Linked DNA regions of Homo sapiens: all the other regions are linked to region 1. Evidence: promoter capture Hi-C in human tissues and cell types (Jung and others, 2019). All regions are on one chromosome and are shown on one strand. Each heading gives the region's core, a stretch centred on a gene start or on the middle of the fragment in contact. The rest is flanking DNA. Distances are from core to core; before and after follow the strand shown. Region 1 holds the start of TMEM128 (transmembrane protein 128). Region 2 has its middle 18 kb from the start of MSX1. Region 3 overlaps LOC101928306 (a long non-coding RNA gene).

Region 1 (3,073 bases), core at 228-2,727:
TAACTAAATTTTTTTTTTTTGAGTCGGAGTCTTCCTCTGTCGCCCGGGTTGGAGTGGAATGGTTTGATCTCGGCTCACTGCAACCACCGCCTCCCGGGTTCAAGCAATTCTCCTGCCTCAGCCTCCCGAGTACCTGGGATTACAGGCGCCTGCCACCACGCCGGGCTAATTTTTGTATTTTTAGTAGAGACGGGGTTTCACCATCTTGGCCAGGCTGCTCTATTTGGCCAGGTTGGTCTCGAACTCCTGACCTCGTGATCAGCCCGCCTCAGCCTCTCAAAGTGCTGGGATTACAGGCGTGAGCTACCCTGCCCAGCCTATAACTAAATATTTTAGTTACTTTAAACACAGCTCAAAAGTGGAAACGGCACACCAGAGCTCTAGTTCCAGCACAGCACTGTCTAGACAGGTGATGGACAAGACATTTTTCCTGTCTGGAACGCAATCTGAAAGAATGGGTGGATGGGGGTTGGGTCAGATGGATGATTTCTATTAAGTTTTCCGGGGATTCTGACATGCCCTCTAGGTTCACGTGAGAATCAATGGTCCACATCTGAGGTTTTGGGCCTTTAGATGACCATCGGAAACCCTGGGAAGCATGTTCGTAATATTCTGGGATATCCTCAAAATGTATACATCATCATGCCTGGGCATGAGGTTATTCGTGTTTTTAATTTTAAAAGGTAATAAATGGACGTGGTTTTAAAACATATGAGATAAAAAATATCCAAAATGAAGTATCTGTCTCCCATCCTTAACCTCAGATCTAATCCCCAGAAGCAACCACCACTTACAATTTCTACTGAATTCTTCCATATTCTATGCATTCACAGGTGAACATACATCACAAGTTACCTGTTTTGTACCCAAATGGCGGCATACCATAGTGTTCCACACTTCCCTTTGAAAATCATCCCCATTGGTACATACGAGTCGACCTGATGTGTCAGGTATACATATACCCAAATTTACTTAAACAGCTTTCTGCTGACGGGCAAGGCAGATATTTCCAGTAATTCGCTATTACAAGCAATCCTGAAGTGAAACACTGCGCACATCATTGTACACTGCGGTACACGCATGTTTCTGGTAAATCCTTAAGACTTAAAACTGGTGGGTATTTTTAATTTTAATCGCTATTTCCAAATAGGTGTCAAATCAGCTCTCCAGAGAATTCTGAAGCGCAGCTGAAATGACGATGCACAGCACTCCGCGATTCTAAGGATCTTCCCTGACATTAAATATTCGACTTGCAAAGCCGAAACTCAGTCCTTCCAGACTGGGCCAGGGCTGCCGGAGGCCGGCCGTTTTCCGACGCCTCGCCTCTGAGAACCTCGGGGCGGCTTGGTGCGCGCCTCACCCGGCCCGGCGTCACCCTCGCGGTCCAGCTGGGCCTCGGCGTCCGGCAGGAGGAGGAATCGCCGCCGGAGCTGCTGCCGGGCCCGCGAGGAGTCCATCTTGGTACCGCCCCGAAATGCGACGGAAGTGACGTCAGACACAGCGCTTCCGGCGTCCGCTCCGGGTCTGGACCTCCTGGCGTTTGGATTGGAGACTGTGTTCTCTTCGCTGTTTAGTTAGCGAGCAGCTAGGGTGGAGTCGGCCTCAAAGGTTCCGCTCTCATGTCGGCAAGTGTGATTTGAATTTTAAAACACTGAGCTTTGCCGGTGGAAGAGTTCCCAAGTTTATTCCGACCTACGGAAGCCCAGGAGGACCAGGATTACCGCTGCCGCTGGATGCGTCCAGGGCCGGGATGCGCGACCGTGAGACGCTGCGCTTCCGAAGCCCTCGCAGGCTTCCGGGTGCCAGAGCAGGAGACATACCCTCTGTCCAGCCTTCCACTCTCAGCCCCCAGTTTTTTTCCTACTTTTGCTTTTCAGGAGTCGTCCAGCAAGACTTGAAAGGAGGAGAAAGGCCTGCTGGACAGGATGCTAGAGCCTGGCAGTGACCACTTGGGGGCCCTGGGCATTAAATAAACTTCTTGGGGCCCGTTTCGTTATTACACTTGGCTCTAGATTTGTTGTGCGTTTCAGTGAGAAGTACCTGTATGTGGTTCATGTGAGCCTCCTCCTCGCCACTTGTGAAAAATCCTCCCAGCCTGAACCGAGGGAACTAAATTGCTTTCCCAGCAAACTGCGGTTTTCCACACTGCTCACGCCCACAAACTGTGTGTTACGAGTTCACAACTTTTTCTTCGTCAATAATCCCGCGTATTACTCTCCCAGCCGTTTCCCAGCGTGTCATGTGCTGAGAAATGGTGGGCTTAGCCACGCAAACGTTTACTGAGCATCTACTATTTGGTAGGAGCTGTTAGGCACCATGCTAGCAGTGGAGATAAAGATGAGTAAGACATGGCCTTGCACGTGAGGAGCTCCTTGTCCAAAGAAAACCACAGAGGTATATTACAAGAAAACTCTATTTGTAAATGTATGAAAGCATTTCATCAATGCAGCCAACATTTTCTGAGCAGCTGCATGTGATAAAATGGTGAGGACAGAAGAATCTAGTAGAGGAAGCAGCTTCAATACAGTGCCATAATAAAAACACTGTACATGGGGCATAATAGAAACACTGTACATATAAAGGGCAGTTTATTCTGCTGCAGTGTGGGAGAGCAGGGAGAGTGGTTTCAGGTGAGTTGAATACAGGGGTGGAGAGCCAGCTACATAGGAAGTAAAATTTGAATTAGTAGGCACTGTTTAATATCTTCGATGTGTTGGGGTGTTTGTAAAAGGAATGTAATAAGAAATACTCAAGAAAAGAGTGCCAGCCGCGCGCGGTGGCTCACGCCTGTAATCCCAACACTTTGCGAGGCCGAGGCGGGCGGATCACAAGGTCAGGCGTTTGAGACCAGCCTGGCCAACATGGCGAAACCCCGTCTCTACTAAAAATACAAAAGTTAGCCGGGAATGGTGGCCGGCACCTGTAATCCCAGCTACTCTGGAGGCTGAGGCAGGACAATCACTTGAACCTGGGAGAAGGAGGCTGCAGTGATCCTGCCACTGCACTCCAGCTTGGGCAACAGAGTGAGATTCCCTCTCAAAAATAAAAATAAAAAAAATTAAAAAAAAGAGAG
Region 2 (2,791 bases), core at 206-2,705, 630 kb after region 1:
GGGCAGCCCAGCAATGTTTGTTGAGTGAATAAGTGAAACCAATCTCTGCTCTGATGCTTTCTTGTACGTTTCCGGGTATGGGGCACTCACCACCTTGGGGAAACAGTTAATTTTTCTGTCTATCTATCCACCTATTCAGTTAGCATTTATCTTACCCATAATGAGCACCAACCACTTATTGAGCACCAACTATGTACCCAGGACCTGGGCTAGTGCTGGGGACACACTGGCAAAGAGGGACAAAAGCAAGGTCTCTGCCCTTATGGAGGCTGGAGCTTAGGTGAGACAGATATTAACTAAAGATTATGAAAATACACTTCAAATGTTCGTCTTCGTAAGTGACACTGTGCTGGGAGAAAACTCAACATATATTATATTATTTAATAATCACCTTGGACATGAGGTCACCACAGTACATGAAGACATTCTTACCCCTGTTTTATGAGAAGGAACACCAAGGCCAGAGAGGAGGAAACTGAAGTTCAGAGAAGGCAGGTCACACAGAGGGAGCTGAGCTGCAGAAGCTTCTTTTTTTATTACAAATTTTTATTTTACTTTAAGTTCCGGGATACATGTGCAGAACGTGCAGGTTTGTTACCTAGGTATATGTGTGCCACGGTGGTTTGCTGCATTTATCAGCCCATCGCCTAGGTGTTAAGCCTCACATACATTAGTTATTTGTCCTGGTACTTTCCCTTCCCGGGCTGCCCCCCTGCCATCGAATCTTCTTGATGACTTATTTTATTTTTTGAGACGGAGTCTCGCTCTGTCACCCAGGCTAGAGTTCAGTGGCGCCATCTCTGTTCACTGCAACCTCTGCCTCCCGGGTTCAAGTGATTCTCTTGCCTCAGCCTCCCCAGTAGCTGGGATTACCGGCGCCCACCACCACGCCCATCTAATTTTTTTTTTTTTTTTTTTTTTGCATTTTTAGTAGAGACAGGATTTCTCCACGTTGGCCAGGCTGGTCTCGAACTCCTGACCTCAAGTGATCCTCCCGCCTCGGCCTCCTAAAGTGCTGGAATTACAGGCATGAGCCATCATGCCCAGCCAATGACTCATTTTGTAGATGGGGAAACAGAGGCTCAGAAAGCTTAGAGAACTTTTCTGAGGTCACACAGCTATTGAATATAACAGCCATAGTCTGAACCTTGTCTGGTTGACTTTGAGGCCTGGCTCTATACTATCCCTTGTCCTCCTAAGTCTTTTCTTTTGCTAAATGTTCCCCTTCCTCCAGTGTCCCTTACCCTGGCCCGCAAGTCCCTACAGGATGTAGCTCCCCTGCCTCTTGTGACTTCAATGACTGATGCCATTGAGTGATTCTGGCTGTCTCTCCAGCACAGTGCACACATCCCTGCCGCAGGGCCTTTGAACTTGCTGTTCCCTCTTCCTGGAACGCTGTGCCCTGGTTATTTGTGTGATTCTTTCTGTCCCTTTTTTACCTGGCTCAAGTACCTGCTCGGTGGCTCAGAGAAGCCTTTCCTGACCCCTTGCCTAAAATTGTGCTGTTGTGAGTCTTTACGATCCCTCCTCACCTTGCTTTGTTTTTCTCCATTTAAACCACTCCATGGCAGCAGAGGTCATGCTTACACGTTTGTTTATTCTTTATCTGTCCCTCACTAGGCTCTGGGCTCCGTGAGGGCAGTGGCTTCATCTGTGTAATTCCCTGATCTTCCCAGCACCAGGAACAGCGCCCAGCACGCAGTAGGACTTTGATATTTGTTAAGTGAATGAAGGATTTTTTTTTTTTTTTTTTGAGACAGAATCTTGCTCTGTCACCCAAGCTAGAGTGCAGTGGCGTGATCCCGGCTCACTGCAACCTGTGCCTCCCGGATAGGGTTCAAGCAATTCTCCTGCTTCAGCTTCCCAAGTAGCTGGGATCACAAGCACATGACACCGGGCCCAGCTAATTTTTTTATTTTTTAGTAGAGACGAGATTTCACCATGTTGTTCAGGCTGGTCTCGAACTCCTGGCCTACGTCAAGTAGGTCTGCCTGCCTCAGCCTCCCAAAGTGTTGGGATTACAGGTGTGAGCCACTGCTCCTGGCCTGAAGGATTTCTGTCCTTGTTCTGCACAATAGGAGCCTGAGGCTTGGAGGAGCCTCAGGATGGCAAACTGGGCCCTGCTGAGCTCTGAGCCCAGCTCTAGGGCCTGTCCTTCCTGCCATCAATACTCGGAGGAGGCCCCACGGAACCCAGGGAGGCCCAGGAGGCATGGAGGTGGGTGCCGAGAAGTCAGCAGCCTCACCCTTGACAGCTGGCCATGGCAGTCAAGTCCCTGGAACCTGGATTTGGGGGAAAATGATAAAGGTGAAAAAGTTGGCCCTCATTTCCATGTAGGCCTGCCAGCTCCACGAATATCTTGCTACTTACCTGTCCCGACCAGACACAGGACACTTCAAGATTCCAAGAGATGGACCGGCTCAGGGTGATGGGGCTTCCGGGGCTGGTGCTGAAGGGAAGTGCCAATCTCTGAGGACTTCCATAAGCCAGAATGTTTATTTTCTAGTTCAATCCCCACAGTGATCCAAGAAGTTGGAATCAATACCACCTCCCCTTGGCTCTGAGATGGTGTGTGAGGACCCACAATTCCCCTTCTTTTCCTTCCATTTGGGAAACTTCTCTCAATTTTCCTAAAGGTTTACGTTTTATGGTGTGAGAGGAAGTATGAACACAGGAACTGGCTGAGTCTGGGGGCTCAGGAGCCAGGAAGCTTGAGTTCAAATCCTGGCCCCTCACTCCCTGGCTGTGTGACCTTTGGTGGATTTCTGAACCCCGTTAAGTGATCACGATC
Region 3 (3,062 bases), core at 454-2,953, 690 kb after region 1:
CAGCAAATTCTCATTCTTGAAGGGCCTTTCTTCGGCCGGGTGTGGTGGCTCACGCTTGTAATCCCAGCACTTTGGGAGCCCGAGGCGGGTGGATCATGAGGTCAGGAGTTTGAGATGAGCCTGGCCAACATGGTGAAACCCATCTCTAGTAAAAGTATAAAAATTAGCTGGCTGTGGTGGTGTGCACCTGTAATCCCAGCTGCTCAGGAGGCTGAGGCAGAATTGCTTGAACCCAGGAGGCGGAGGTTGCAGTGAGCCAAGATCACGCCACTGCACTCCAGCCTGGGTGAGAGAACAAGGCTCTGTCTGAAAACAATAACAACAACAGAACCTTTCTTCTTCCCACCCACTGAAGTTTCATACTCTTTCCCTCGCCATCCTGTTTCACTGGAGCCCTGTGTGCAGTATGTAATGAAACGAATATTTGGTGTGTATTTGTATAGGGTCTGTTTTCTTCTACCAAACTAAGTTCTACAAGGACCTCTCCTGATTTGCTCCCCACAACATCCACAGTGGCCAGCATAGCACGAGTCATACAGTAGGCACTCATGGTGAACTAATACACAGTGACAAAACCTGCAGGACCTGGTGGCTGTTGGCATGGAGTAGGGAGAAGAGAGGACAAGGAGGGTCCTGAGAAGTGGGGAACAGCTTTGCCTTTAATGGAAGCAGGGCATGGGGAGGTCCCTGGATGCCATTCAGCTCAGTAAATGTTTATTGAGTGTCTGCTAGTTTTTCTACTTCTTTCCCATCAGTTAATCATACAAGCTAGCTCAGAACATGGAAAACATCTCATGGGCCAAATAACGCAGATGAAAGCTCTATGACCTTGGAAGCTACTCCCATAGCAGCTGCCTTGAGATCTCTATGTGTATCTAGGCACAGATGGAAATAAGAATCATAATTGATGCCAGGAATTGCCAATTTAAAAATATAAATGATATACAATGATTTTTAAAAATCCCATAAGATACATATATTTTCCATTTTGCAGAAATGATAACTCAGTCTTAGAGGCAACAAGAGATTTGTCCAAAATCACAGAAAGTAGCAGGACTGTTGAGATTTTACCCCTTGTCCACCTGGCTCTAAAGCCTGTGCTGTTGCCCCATTTACCCTGCAGCCTCTGAAAAGCTGAACCTTGACATGATTGGTCTGTCTGCCATTCCCAGCTTAGCTCGATACAACAGGAGCCAGAGGTCTCATGGTTCAAGCACTCAGTACTGACTAAGCACACCCTCTAGGACCTTGGGGAGCAAGGGGAGCAAATTCAGCAGTCATTATTCTGATTTGCTATTCTTTCATTGATTCTTCCATCTTTTGATTTACTGATTAATGTATTCATTCATTCATTCTACAAAATGAATTGCACAGGCAGACATGTAAATAGGAAATTGTAGCAAGATGTGATTACCTGGGAGTGGCAGTGTTGGAGCAGATTGGCCCTTGTGCTACCAAGGTTCCTAGGATTGGAGGACCAGACAAGTTCTTGAATCTCTAGGACGGGGTGCAGAAATGGAAATCCACTGGAGACATCAAGCATGGCAGCTCCTGTCGGATCCCCGGGAAGGCCAAGCACGTCTCATCTCTTGTTATTCCTCATGTCCTTGCTGCCTTAATCAAAAACAATCGCAGTATGTGTGACTTAAAACGAATGGCCAAGAGGGATAATTCAAAACAGGCATGTCTAGAACTAAGCACCCCACTGGATGGGAATCAAGTGATTATGTGAACAAAGAGAAGGTATCAAGTCAGAGGCCATCTGTTCATTCACAGGCACTCCTCAAGGACTCAGTGCCAGGGCCAGGGCCTCATGGGGCCTACAGTCTAGGGGGCAGAAGAACAATGAACAATGACCATGCAGCAAGCCATGTGCTGGAAGGAGAGATAAACGCAGAGCTGTGAGCCTGGCGGTCTGTGTCTGTAACTGTCCATCTCACCTCTTTCCACACTCAGGACCTGGAGGCCAGAGCATGCCTCTTCGTCGTGTCTGTCTCCCCAGGCAAGGCTGCCAGAGTGCAAAATGAAAATGGCGGGCCCCTTTTTCAAAAAGGAGAAAAGATGTTGACATAGATGTGTTGAAGAGGGATCACTTTTACACCGCTGGTAGGAATGTAAATTAATTCAACCACCATGGAAAACAGGGTGGAGATTCCCAAAAGAACTAAAAGTAGAACTACCATTCAATCCAGAAATCCCATTACTGGGTATCTACGCAAAGGAAAAGAAGTCATTATATTGAAAAATACACTCGCACAAGCATGTTTATAGCAGCACAATTCACAATTGCAAAGATATGGAACCAACCTAAGTGCTCATTGACCAACGAGTGGATAAAGAAAATGTAGTATATATGCACCATGGAATACTACTCAGCCAAAAAATTGAACAAAATAATGTCTTTTGCAGCAATTTGGACAGAGCTCGAGGCCTTTCTAAGTGAAGTAACTCAGGAATGGAAAGCCAAATATCATATATTCTCACCAATAAGTAGGAGCTAAGCTAAGAGGACACAAAGGCGTAAGAGTGATCAGGGACCCTGACGAAGTAGGGAGTAGGGTGAGGGATAAAAACTACATATTAGGTACAGTGTAACTGCTCAGGTGACAGGTGCACTAAAATCTCAGAATCACCACTTAAAAACTTATCCACGTAGCCCAAAACCACCAGTATCCCAAAAAATATTGAAAAATAAAGTTACTGAAATATAAAGCATCTTTTCTTTTGTGGTTTTCTTCTTGCCCTGTGATTCTTTAAATTTACTATTAAACTGCAATCATGGCAGGGTGCAGTGGCTGGCTCATGCCTGTAATCCCAGCACTTTGGGAAGCTGAGGTGGGCAGATCCCCCACGGTCAGGAGTTCGAGACCAGTCTGACCAACACGATGAAATCCCATCTCTACTAAAAATTAGCCAGGCTTGGTGGTGGGCGCCTGTGATCCTAGCTACTCAGAAAGCTGAGGCAGAAGAGTCACTTGAACCCAGGAGGTAGAGGTTGCAGTGAGCTGAGATCATGCCATTGCACTCCAGCCTGGGCAATAGAGCGAGACTCCATCTCAAAA

What was found. The method cuts DNA at HindIII sites, captures the fragments that hold promoters and counts their contacts. A contact is called where the count stands out against the background at its distance.
Region 2: a contact is called between a fragment that was not itself captured here and the fragment with the promoter of TMEM128 in region 1, in 1 of the 25 tissues and cell types used here (mesenchymal stem cells).
Region 3: a fragment that was not itself captured here is called in contact with the fragment with the promoter of TMEM128 in region 1 in 2 of the 25 tissues and cell types used here (spleen and thymus).

Annotation. Positions count from the first base shown.
Region 1 is chr4:4,246,746-4,249,818 of GRCh38, forward strand. TMEM128 (transmembrane protein 128) reads right to left here and starts at 1,478. Exons shown (of 5, transcript NM_001297551.2): 1 at 1,361-1,478. The coding sequence starts at 1,457. RefSeq lists enhancers at 820-1,446, 1,749-1,858. The HindIII fragment of the contact is 14,953 bases long and covers 1-3,073 here.
Region 2 is chr4:4,875,795-4,878,585 of GRCh38, forward strand. No RefSeq gene overlaps it. Among named protein-coding and RNA genes, the nearest start is that of MSX1, 18 kb to the left of the region's middle. The HindIII fragment of the contact is 3,207 bases long and covers 1-2,791 here.
Region 3 is chr4:4,936,178-4,939,239 of GRCh38, forward strand. All of the region lies in intron 2 of LOC101928306 (a long non-coding RNA gene), which reads left to right. Among named protein-coding and RNA genes, the nearest start is that of MSX1, 78 kb to the left of the region's middle. The HindIII fragment of the contact is 6,944 bases long and covers 1-3,062 here.